Regions from separate parts of the Homo sapiens genome. Here region 2 is linked to region 1. Evidence: promoter capture Hi-C in 16 types of primary human blood cells and fetal thymus (Javierre and others, 2016). All regions are on one chromosome and are shown on one strand. The core of a region is centred on a gene start or on the middle of the fragment in contact, and the rest is flanking DNA. Distances in the headings are between cores, read along the strand shown. Region 1 holds the start of TTK (TTK protein kinase). Region 2 overlaps SH3BGRL2 (SH3 domain binding glutamate rich protein like 2).

Region 1 (5,542 bases), core at 982-3,481:
AACTCAATATAGCAAAAATATCATTTTAACCTGTAATTGATATTTTTAAAATTATCAATGTTTATTACTTTTTCTTATTCAGTCTTCAAAATCCAGAGTGTATTTTATACTTAACAGTACATCACATTTCATACTCAGACACTTTCACTGGAAATACTTCATCTGCATTTGGTTCTCACAAAATTTACAGTTGAAAAAGTAGGTTCATATACTTACATTGTTCCAAGTATACTTAAAAGTCTTCCAATAAATTCATGACTAATGCAAGTTTAGAAAAAAGAAAGCAAAAAAAATTACTTTAAATAGTTTAAAAATAATCCCATTAGATATCAGTTTTCAAATTTAAATATAAATTTAATTAATCAATTAAGGTTAATTGATTTAAAAATTCAGTTCCCAGTTGCACTAGACATACTCAAGTGCTCAATAGTCACAGACCATCACAAGGACTTTTGATTTTATTCCGAGCTAGAAAGGGAGCACTGAAGGGTTTTGAGCAAAGTAGTGACATAATCTGATTTAAGATGACTTTGCTATGTCAGAGAATAAATTGAGGTGAGGCAAGGGCAGAAGCAGGGAGACCAGCCAGGAGGCTACTGCAGGTAACATCAGTTAAGTGATGCAGATGCCTTGGACTGAAGTGGTGGCAGTGGAGGTGGGGAGAACTGGTAGGAGTCCAGGAATCTCTTGTGCCAGCCCTGACTCAATCTGCTTATGAGTTAGATAAGGGATCAGGGATGACACAAAGGTTTTGGGGCTAAAAAATTTAAGACAATGAATTTGTCTTTTATAGATTTTGTAAAAAAAACAGGTTTGGGTAGGAAGATCAGGGGCTTGGTTTTGGACATTTTGAGTTCAAGATGCGTATGAGACATGTAAGTGAAGATGTTAATAAGTAGGCAGTGGATATCTGAGTATGGAGTTGAGGAGAGCTCAGCTAATGATACACATTTGGGAGCCATCAACATATAGATGGTATTTAAAAATAGAAGACTGAAGGAGACCACCAAACGAGAGTACAGAAAGAAGTGTTAGGGTGAGGTCATCCAGCAACAGTATTTTAAGGAAAATGCAAGCTTTGTGATCAGGCCGCAAACAGATCAACGAGAATTGGAGGAATAATAAACTCTTTCCAGGCAGAAGCATTAGATGCAATGGTGCAAAGGTAAGTGATTAGCCAACCATGGTATAGCAAGTCATTTTGCTCTGCTGAAGCAGAAATACTAGCTAGCTGACACAGAAAGATGCATTAAGTGATTGAGAAGGGCTCTCACGCTAGCTGGGTGGCTATCCAGAGCTGGGAATGTGAGGGTTCTAAGGATAGCTTTGGAGTTAACAAGTGACAGCTGCAGTTAGTTTCCTATACATACACAAAACCAACCCGTCCTACCACAGAATATATGTCATAATGCTGGCACAACAGACACATCCCTTTTAGTTTTGCAGACGAGGAGTAACCGTTGCCCTGGACCACAAAGCCACTTAGCGGCAGAGCCTCGCACCCGCGAAGATTATTACTAGGGAGATGTTTTTACCCCTGAGGACACCTGAGCCCTTAAGTGGGGCAGGCTTCGAGGGAGGGGGGCCGATAAGGCGACTTCAGACAGGGCAATCACGATGGGCGCTTGAGTTCTGCGCAGAATTTTGACAAGGGGGAGGGTCTTGGCTTGAAGACAGAGCGTGGAGTCATTTAAGGATAATGGAAGGGCATAAGCAGAAGCTCAAGGATAAAAAGCACTGAAATTCTTGAGCTGGCGGCAGGGCTGAACGTAGCTCAGTGAAAGATCCTTTCTTGCCACATCCTCTCTAAGCCAGGCTGTGAGAACCGCGGGAAACGAAGGAGAAGGGTGGCGGTGGGGTCAGTAAAGGGCCGGCCCAAGGTGCATCTTTTAGGTCCTGATGCTAGGAGCAGCCGTCCCTGCCCCTATATTCCTCTCACTGGGTAGGTTTGCTCGGGAGTGGCTACCTCCCAGGCAAAAATTCGGCCTGGTTAAACTGGAAAGACCAGGAAAGCCCGCCCACGGGCGTCCGGGGAACGCCTGCAAAGTGCCAGCACCCTACCAACCCAGGCGCCGCACGGGTGGGGTCGCGGCCGCAGGCTCTTCCGGGGCGGGCCTAGCCTGACGCAGGAGGAGGGGCGGCCCCCGTCGCACAAGAACCAATCACGACTGTCGCTTCTACGTGGCTAGCATTGACCAATAGGAGACCGTAGTGATAGCGACGGGGAAATTCAAACGTGTTTGCGGAAAGGAGTTTGGGTTCCATCTTTTCATTTCCCCAGCGCAGCTTTCTGTAGGTAAGTTCTGTCTTACCGGTGCACCGGCGCACTGAGGAACAGCCGCAGCCGGTGTAGGGGCTCATTGTTAGCGCTGGTCGGTGAGGGGTGGGGCGAGGTGGGGGCAGCTCGGAGCCAGGTATGCGACGCGGCTAAACGAGCTGGAGGGGGAGGGGATGTCTCACTGCCTCAGCGGGTCTGGCCGGTGGGGTGATGCAGGAGGTTTTGTTGAGGAAGTAAGAAGTGGGTGTGGCCCACGCTGGAAAGAAGGGGTGGTGGGGTACCTGCGCACAAGATCGTTTTCCAAAGGACAGTCTCTCTTGTTTTGGGGGTTAGAACTGGGAAAGAAGCGGGTGGCCGTGATCTGACAGTTATCTTTCAAACCTGACTTAAGAGGTGGAGTGATACCTTGCTGCAACTTTATGACTTTTTTTCATTGTTAAACCTGAAGACGGGGCAGCATTGTTATCAGTGACACTGAGTTGGTGTTTGAGAGTCACAAAGATACGATTAACAATAAGACTGCAGACACTTTATTGAACAAACACCACCACCATGCAGATAAGCAAGTGCTCAGTACCAGTACAATAGTTTCTTAGTGTTAGATTAAGGTAGCAAATCGTGATTCTGCTAGATATGCACAAGAATAAATCTGCGGATTTCCTAATTATCAGTAAAGCCCCATCATGTTTATATTCTGCTTTGAAAGCACTTGCACTGGAAGATTTACTCAAGTAAAGCAGGCGAATAAAGGAATTGTTATTCCCATTGCCAAACGAATTCTTTATGTCTATGTCACTACCAGAATCCAAGCAATCTTTATGTGTATGTCGCTACCAAAATCCAAGCAAACACTCTATCATATTTTTTTTAAGTGACACTAAATTTGCAGATTTCTACAGTGTGACGTCATTGATGTTATATTGGGGGAAAAAGTATACTTGGCCTATGAAACCTTGGTGAATAAATTACAAAGATGTGTACCTTGTTGTTGTGCACTTACCTCCATTAATACTAGCCTAATAATAGCTGCATTTAGATGTGTTCACAAAACGAATGCTTTAGTCGTCTGGGTTCTAAAAAGCTAGTGCATTTTTTTCTTTGATGCTAGTTAAAGTAGGAGTTATGACTGTTCAGTTTTTTTCTTAGAAATGGAATCCGAGGATTTAAGTGGCAGAGAATTGACAATTGATTCCATAATGAACAAAGTGAGAGACATTAAAAATAAGTTTAAAAATGAAGACCTTACTGATGAACTAAGCTTGAATAAAATTTCTGCTGATACTACAGGTGAGTTTTTCTTTTCTTTTAAGTTAGTAACTGTTTGTTGGGTATCCTCTAAGGTAAAGATATAGTACTAATCACTTTATTTATAATTTACTCATGTGTTTATTGTCTTTCTCCTCCATTAGAATGCAGGCTACATGATGGCAGGGTTTTTGTCTGTTATATCCACAGAACTTTGAATGGTGTCTGGCACATGGTAGGTAGGCACTTAAACATTTATTGAACAATGATTAATGGGTGAAAATGCCCAGAGTTTAATACTCTAGCTCTTCTAAAAGTATTAGCTCAGAAGCCTGATTCTTTACTGTATTTCAAATGGTTGGTCATTTGAATGGTGACCTTTGGATAATTTTCTTACATCTATACTAACCTTTAAATAGATGAGGAATTGAAAATAAATGGAAGAACCTGTGATCTAATCATGGTGGCTGACTGTTCACTTTGAAAAAACCTAGAAAATGATAGTTTTAGTGTTAAGCAAAATCTTAATGGAGTATAATTGTGCTTAATTATGTCACTAACAAAGGTTGTACATCAAGGCAATTGAGTATTTTAAGTACTGAGGAAGATTCAAAGATGCTTAAAACCATAGTTTCTTTCTAGATGAGAATTTATATATTCACTATGCTACATTGTAATGCATGCTGGGCATCATAGGAATACTAGCATGATAAAACACAAATGTTTTATTTGTTGATTAGAGGAAGAATAGGGTACTCAGGCATGAGGAATGCATCTGCAAAGCCACAGATGGCAATGTGTGTTTTTTAGACATTTCACAGACTAATTTCTTAGGAAAGCAATAGGAGGTAAAAATAGAAAATTAAGGTCAGACCAAATTAAATTTAAAACGACAAAGCAAAGTTATGCATGCACTATATTTTAGTAGAAAGTAGAAACAAATTTTATTTATAAAAGTAAAGATGTAGGCTTTGTTGAAAGTGACTGAAGTTAATAGAAGGAATAATAGCTTCTCTGGAAATCTGAATTTAATATTGCTTAGTAATAACCAAAATATCCTGAACAGAAGACTGACATTCAAGTTATCTTTTTAAAAAACTAACACTGAAGAAAGTAAAAAGTACATTTCAGTGTGAACATTTTGTCTGAAGGTTATTCTTGCTGTTTCTGTTGGTTGGGGTTCCACAGAGAGAAACCTGACAGTCACAAGAGGTCCTATAAATTCCAAAGGTCTAGACCACGGTAACTATGAGTTTGTTGGACCAAGAAATTATCAGGGCCTCTAGCAGAAATTTAGGTTACTTGGAGAGAAGAAAATGATTGTCTCATTTGTTTATTTTTTGTAAAGCTGGTTTGGTTTTACAAGTAAGTATGAGGTATACAGAGATAATGTTGAATGGTTAAGGTTGTAAAGAAGGTTATGTTAGGACTGGAGCAGTAGGTTTAATGAATAAATCATTGATGGGAGAATTTTCTAAGTTAATTAGTACAAGTGGCAGTGGGAGAGATTTAGTTTTCTATGGATAGGTAGGATGCTAAAATTATAGTTATCCTGCAACAGCATAAAATTTTCTTAAACTACATACAATTTTTAAAGGCTACTTACAAAAAAACTCACTTATTTCCAAATGTTTTCTTTCCTTCAAAATATATAGCTTTTGGATAAAGTATACCTTCATAAAAGATAAATACACGATAAATAAGTTACTTGTATTTATATGAACTTTTACAATTTTAAAAAGTATTATAAGGACTTTATGTACATTGATACTGACAGTACAAATGTTTGACTATATTTTGAAGGAAAAATGCAATTTGGCATTTGTTTTATGTCTTTTCTTGTGATATATTTTGTTCCCCTTATTTAGATAACTCGGGAACTGTTAACCAAATTATGATGATGGCAAACAACCCAGAGGACTGGTTGAGTTTGTTGCTCAAACTAGAGAAAAACAGTGTTCCGCTAAGTGATGCTCTTTTAAATAAATTGATTGGTCGTTACAGTCAAGCAATTGAAGC
Region 2 (5,542 bases), core at 877-3,376, 340 kb before region 1:
TTGCATGCCAGGCACTGCACTAAGAACTTTATGAACATTATGACATTTAAATTTCACTGCAGTTCTCTATGCTGAATTATTATCTGTGTTTTACAGATGAGGAAACCAAGGCTTTGGTAGAATAAGTATCTTGGCCAAGGTGACACAGACCCAACCCTTTTTGACTGTTCAGGACTAGAACATTAATAAAGCCAACTGGCCCAATTGAGGTTCAGGCTGCTGCCTTTGGTGTCACTGTCACTGTGTTCAGTCCAGCAAAGCCACATGTTCACAGACCAACCAGTGTCCCACACAGACCTCAGTGTCCCACTTGCAGCAGCCAGAACTACTTCCCATTCATCAGTCATATAAAGGTTTTTGTTAACAGTTTGATAGTTGAAATCATGTTATGTTCCATGATGTCAATTAGCTATTCCAGGAAACCAATGGAAAGACGGAAAGATGTTACATTAAAACAATTCACTGAAATATTTCATTTGAAAGACTTTAGGAGACAAGATTTAGAAAAATCTGTGTAAAGTCCCTGTGTTTTAGTACTGCTAGGTAGCCTACTACTAATAACCATTTGTTATCATTGAAAAAGTTGCCCAGGCATGGTGGCTCACGTCTGTAATCCCAGCACTTTGGGAGGCTGAGGAGGGCAGATCATGAGGTCAGGAGTTTGAGACCAGCCTGACCAACATGGTGAAACCTCGTCTCTACTAAAAATACGAAAATTAGCAAGGCGTCGTGGCGGGCGCCTGTAGTCCCAGCTACTCAGGAGGTTGAGACAGGAAAATCGCTTGAACCCAGGAGGAGGAGTTTGCAGTGAGCTGAGATCGAGCCACTGCACTCCAGCCTGGGCAACAGAGCGAGACTCCGTCTCTAAATAAATAAAAAAATAAAAATTCAGCAAATTTGAAACACCATCTTTACAACACACCTAAATCTCCAATGTTAGAATAATGTTTAAATACATTAGCATAAGTACTCAATATAATTCATACATGCAATAAGATAGCTATGGAGATTTTAGAAACAAAAAATATTCGTAATACAACAGAAACATCCTTCCCCAAAACATTTGTTATTATGGCAACTATATAAAGTCTACTTCTAAATGTGGGCTCCCTGGAAGGTTCTATGAAAAATAAAAGCCTCAGCGTGATGAGATTATGGGTTTTTTAAAATTAAAAAATTTCAAATGGGAAAGATGATTTACCATATTATAAACATGTAAAAAAGAAACCAATGCAAATTGATCAAGAAAACAGGACCAAAAATATTGACTGGTTAAAAAGAAAACCAAAGTTAAAAGTATGAATTCAAGCTTAATAATATTTATTTGTTTAATACAAATATTTGCCCATGTAGTAAGTGCCAGGGACTGTGCTAGTGATACATAGATGGAAAACCACAGCATTTTCTATCATTAAAATTATATTGTTTCAATTTATAACATGTACTAACAGTTTTTCAAAAATTGACCTTTATTTTATAATCTGTCTTTCTGACAGGGATTCTGTAAAACTCAAGCTTCAGTCTTTTGTAAGTCAGCCTCTTTATCCTTGGCTTGGTAATCTGGTATTTGCTTTCTAGTAAGATAAACTGAAATAGAAACTGGAGACACTGTACTTTATGTATAATCTCTCATTTAGTTAAGCAGCATTAGAACATTGCCAGTTAGCAAATGGCTTCTTGGGGGTTACTCTACACCCCTGCCCTGCTCCCCAACAATGAGGCGTACTGCTGAGGGTTTCAGTTAGGAATGTGTTCATTTGCAAGTAACAGAGAACCTGTCTAACATGAGCTTAAACAGAGGTGTTTCAGTCTCTCCTGGTAAGTCTGGAGGCTGAACTTGTCGAGGGCCTGCCTTGCTGGGATTCTCTTGGCCTTTTCTGATGCCTGTCACCTCAACGTGGAAAGGCTGCCCCACACCACTAGCCCTCACATCTGGATGCCAAGCTGGAAGAATGAGGAAGGGCAGGGACAAGGGGCCTTAGCATTGTAATCTGTCGGCTTCAGCAGAAAAGCCAAGCTCTGTCCAGAAGCTCCACCTAGTACACTGAGCTTTAGTTTTTTAGACTTCACAGGGCAGATCATGAATGGCTTTGGTGTAACTAGGCTAATGTCTGCCACAGTACTTTCTGCCATTTGCATCCTCTTTTTTGACAGCATAATCCCTAATAAGGCCAAGGATGGTGTTTTATTTAAAGAATTTGCCATGAAATTAGGTATATTTGAGGTACCCTACTCAATCACTGGAAAGTTCCTGAGGTCTTTGACAAGGGAAAGAGCCTCAGCCCTTTCCTCCCTTGTTAGTTGAAAGGAAGAATCAACTTAGGGCCTTCTACCTTCCTTAATCCAGTCCAGGCCCTCCTTTGTAAGTTTCGTCAAGCTGTTTTAAAAAAAACTTTTCCCTTCTATTTTCTCTCACTGTCTGACTTTTTTCTATTTGAGATACATAAGAGGTCCTAATCAGCCTTACATCTACCCCAAGTCAGAATAAAGAAAGCTGTGTGTTTGAAGTGTGAAAGCAGGTGAAATAAAGAACTGTTGTGTTGAATATCTAAAGCCTTTGAAAGCACTCAGAAGTTACTATATTTTTGACAGAGGCCACATCTAGGGCAAAGATAGAAAAGCTAGTATGTTTGAGTGAATGAAACAATTGAGCAGGTGCCCATTACTGCTTAGGCCTTTTCTTGTTTAATTTTCCAGTGAACCTATGGAAAAAAGATAATTGGGTTCTATTAAAAGAAAAGCTTTATGCAGATTATATTTAACAGAGTTTTACTGAACCAAGAATATTTTGTGAATTGGGCAGCCCCCTGAACCAGCATAGGTTCAGAAGGACTCTGACACTGCTTCATAGTCACAAAGAATTTATGTACAGAAAAAGGAAGTTAGGTACAAAAACGGGAATAATCTAATGGAAGTTAGATTGGTTACAGCTTGGCGCTTGCCTTGTTTGGACACAGTTCGAATAGTTGGCTGCCTTAATTGGCTGAAATGCTGTGATTGGTCCAAGAGTAGGTTACAATCTGTTTACGTATCTAGTTAGGTTACAGTTCACTATGGATGGAGCAACCTTTAGGCTGAACTCAAAATATGTAAGGAGGTAGCTTTAGGCTAAGTTTTTTTTTTTTTAATTGAGACAGAGTCTCACTCTGTCGCCCAGGCTGGAGTGCAGTGGTGTGATCTCAGCTCACTGCAACCTCTGACTCCTGGGTTCAAGGGATTCTCCCACCTCAGCCTCCTGAGTAGCTGGGATTACAGGTACATGCCATGACAGCCAGCTAATTTTTGTATTTTTAGTAGAGATGAGGTTTCACTATGTTGGCCAGGCTGGTCTCGAACTCCTGACCTCAGGTGATCTGTCCACCTCAGCCTCCCAAAGTGCTGGGATTACAGGCGTGAGCCACCGCTCCTGGCCTTAGGCTAAACTTAATTTAGCAGTTTATTTCACAGGTTTGGAAATGGAAGCTAAGAGAGATGCCAAGTAATATCTCCAAGGCTACCCATCTGTCAGGGTCAAAATTAAAACCAGGACAATCTGACTCTAAAATATATACTTCCCCCGGCCCCACCTCCCCCCAGTTTTCCTCATTGTCCTCTGTGGCTCATTTGTCTTCAGATAAACTTGTTTCCCATTATTGTTCTTATTCAATCTCAATGTTAAAAAAACTCTTATTCAAATTGATTATGTCTCTTTATTTCCTAGTGAGTCCCAAGGTTCCAGCATCAGCTAGTGAGTCCCATGGTGCAGCATCAGCTATGTATACCCTGGAATTCAAACATGGCTAGACGTGTCTGGAAGCCTATGGAAGGAATCTGGCAGGGGCTGCTTAATTATATAAGTTAACTGGGATCCTCCCGGGAAAGAAGTAATCCTACAAGAAGAGAGTAGAGGCATGCAAGTTTACTTAGCAGTCAGTGCCACAGAGTAGGGGGTTAAGGCTGAGTCACGTGCAAGGTAATTATTTAGCCTGTCTTCCAATCAAATCCCTAGGGACTCTAGGAGCCAGGAGGTTGCCAGTGAAGGTTCCAAGTGTCTTCACTAAGATTTCCACGGGTCATTGAGTCTTCATGCGGAGTCAGGAGACCCCGCAGCTTACTCCCCAGGGCCCTGTGGGGGTGAGTCACGAGGGCTTGGGTGCAGGCATTGGGGTCCTCAGGAGATTCACAGATCTGGAGTCAAAGGGTAAAGGCTTATCCATTCAGTGGCCAACAAGGCTGCTTCAAAGCACATCTGAGGGAGGAGTTTGCTTCAGAGCTCCTGAAGTTAGTGGGGGGGAGTGGTTGAGGGTAATAGAGTACTAAGGTCGTAATGGGAAGCAGATTCAGGGAAATACCCTGAATCTCAATTGCCATATTTATAAATGTATCAACAATTTAATAAAACCATTTGAGCAAAACAAAACACTTCTTGTTTTGTTATGCACTTGCAACTATTAAAATTAACTGACAATAGAATTTATTTAAACATGCAACCACATACTACTTTCTTTTTCAGTCACTGTCAGAGTTAGAAGCAAAGTCTTTTTTCGCATCAGGGTCTAGAGACTCTTCTGAATTATTTCGGCTATGTACAGTTAGATGTAGCATCCTAAGCACAATGCTTTTCAAAACTGTGCTGCTTTGGGATTGAGAAATACTGTCATTTGATCCACTTTCCTGTTGGGCTAAATGTAAGTTACATTTGTTCCTAAATTAAATTACTCACTTAGTTTGAATAGTTTCTCTTGAACATCACCTGGAAATCTTTGATGTTTAGGACTGGAATAATTCTTGAATCATCCATTCAGTTAATATTTATTGAGGGCCTCCTGCACGCTGGTCCTTCTGCTTCCAGAATTGACATTGTAGAGAGAGAGGTGAGAACAAAAACAAAGAGACATATAAATAAATAAAATTTTAATAAATTTAGGCAATAAAACTTCAGCAAGGTTGTTAGAGAGGGCTCTTTGAAGAGGTGATACTTAAAGGTGAGCCCTCAAGGATAAAAGAATCAGCCCTGTTGTTGGTTGGGAGGAAAGTTCCCTATCTCACAGGCCTTTCTACCTGTGAACGTCTTGTCTAGTCATTAACAAATGTTTAATAAAACTGACAAAATCTCCTGGCCTTGGGGAATTTATATTCTTTTTTTTTTTTTTTTTTTGAGACAAAGTTTCGCCCTTGTTGCCTAGGCCGGAGTGCAATGGCCTGATCTCTGCTTACTGCAACCAGGTTCAAGTGATTCTCCTGCCTCAGCCTCCCCAGTAGCTAGGATTACAGGCATGCACCACCACGCCTGGCTAATTTTTGTATTTTTAGTAGAGATAGGGTTTCACCATGTTGATCAGGCTGGTCTCAAACTCCTGACCTCAGGTGATCCCCCCACCTCAGACTCCCAAAGTGCTGGGATTACAGGAGTGACCCACCGCACCCAGCCAGGGGATTTATATTCTAGTGGGGGAGATGGACAAACAAATACATAGTATCTACAGTCTGTCAGATGCCAAGTGCTGTGGTGAAAAATACAGCAGTGGAGGGGAAGTAGAGAGTTCTGGGGTAGGTGGTAAAA

What was found. The method cuts DNA at HindIII sites, captures the fragments that hold promoters and counts their contacts. A CHiCAGO score of 5 or more calls a contact.
Region 2: a contact is called between a fragment that was not itself captured here and the fragment with the promoter of TTK in region 1, in 2 of 17 cell types (non-activated CD4 T cells and naive CD4 T cells). The highest score is 5.7, in non-activated CD4 T cells.

The regions. Positions count from the first base shown.
Region 1 is chr6:80,002,418-80,007,959 of GRCh38, forward strand. TTK (TTK protein kinase) reads left to right here and starts at 2,232. Exons shown (of 22, transcript NM_003318.5): 1 at 2,232-2,296; 2 at 3,425-3,565; 3 at 5,392-5,542. The coding sequence starts at 3,427. RefSeq lists enhancers at 1,269-2,143, 1,714-1,833. The HindIII fragment of the contact is 2,460 bases long and covers 1,075-3,534 here.
Region 2 is chr6:79,664,335-79,669,876 of GRCh38, forward strand. The region is part of intron 1 of SH3BGRL2 (SH3 domain binding glutamate rich protein like 2); the gene reads left to right. Among named protein-coding and RNA genes, the nearest start is that of SH3BGRL2, 36 kb to the left of the region's middle. The HindIII fragment of the contact is 1,226 bases long and covers 1,514-2,739 here.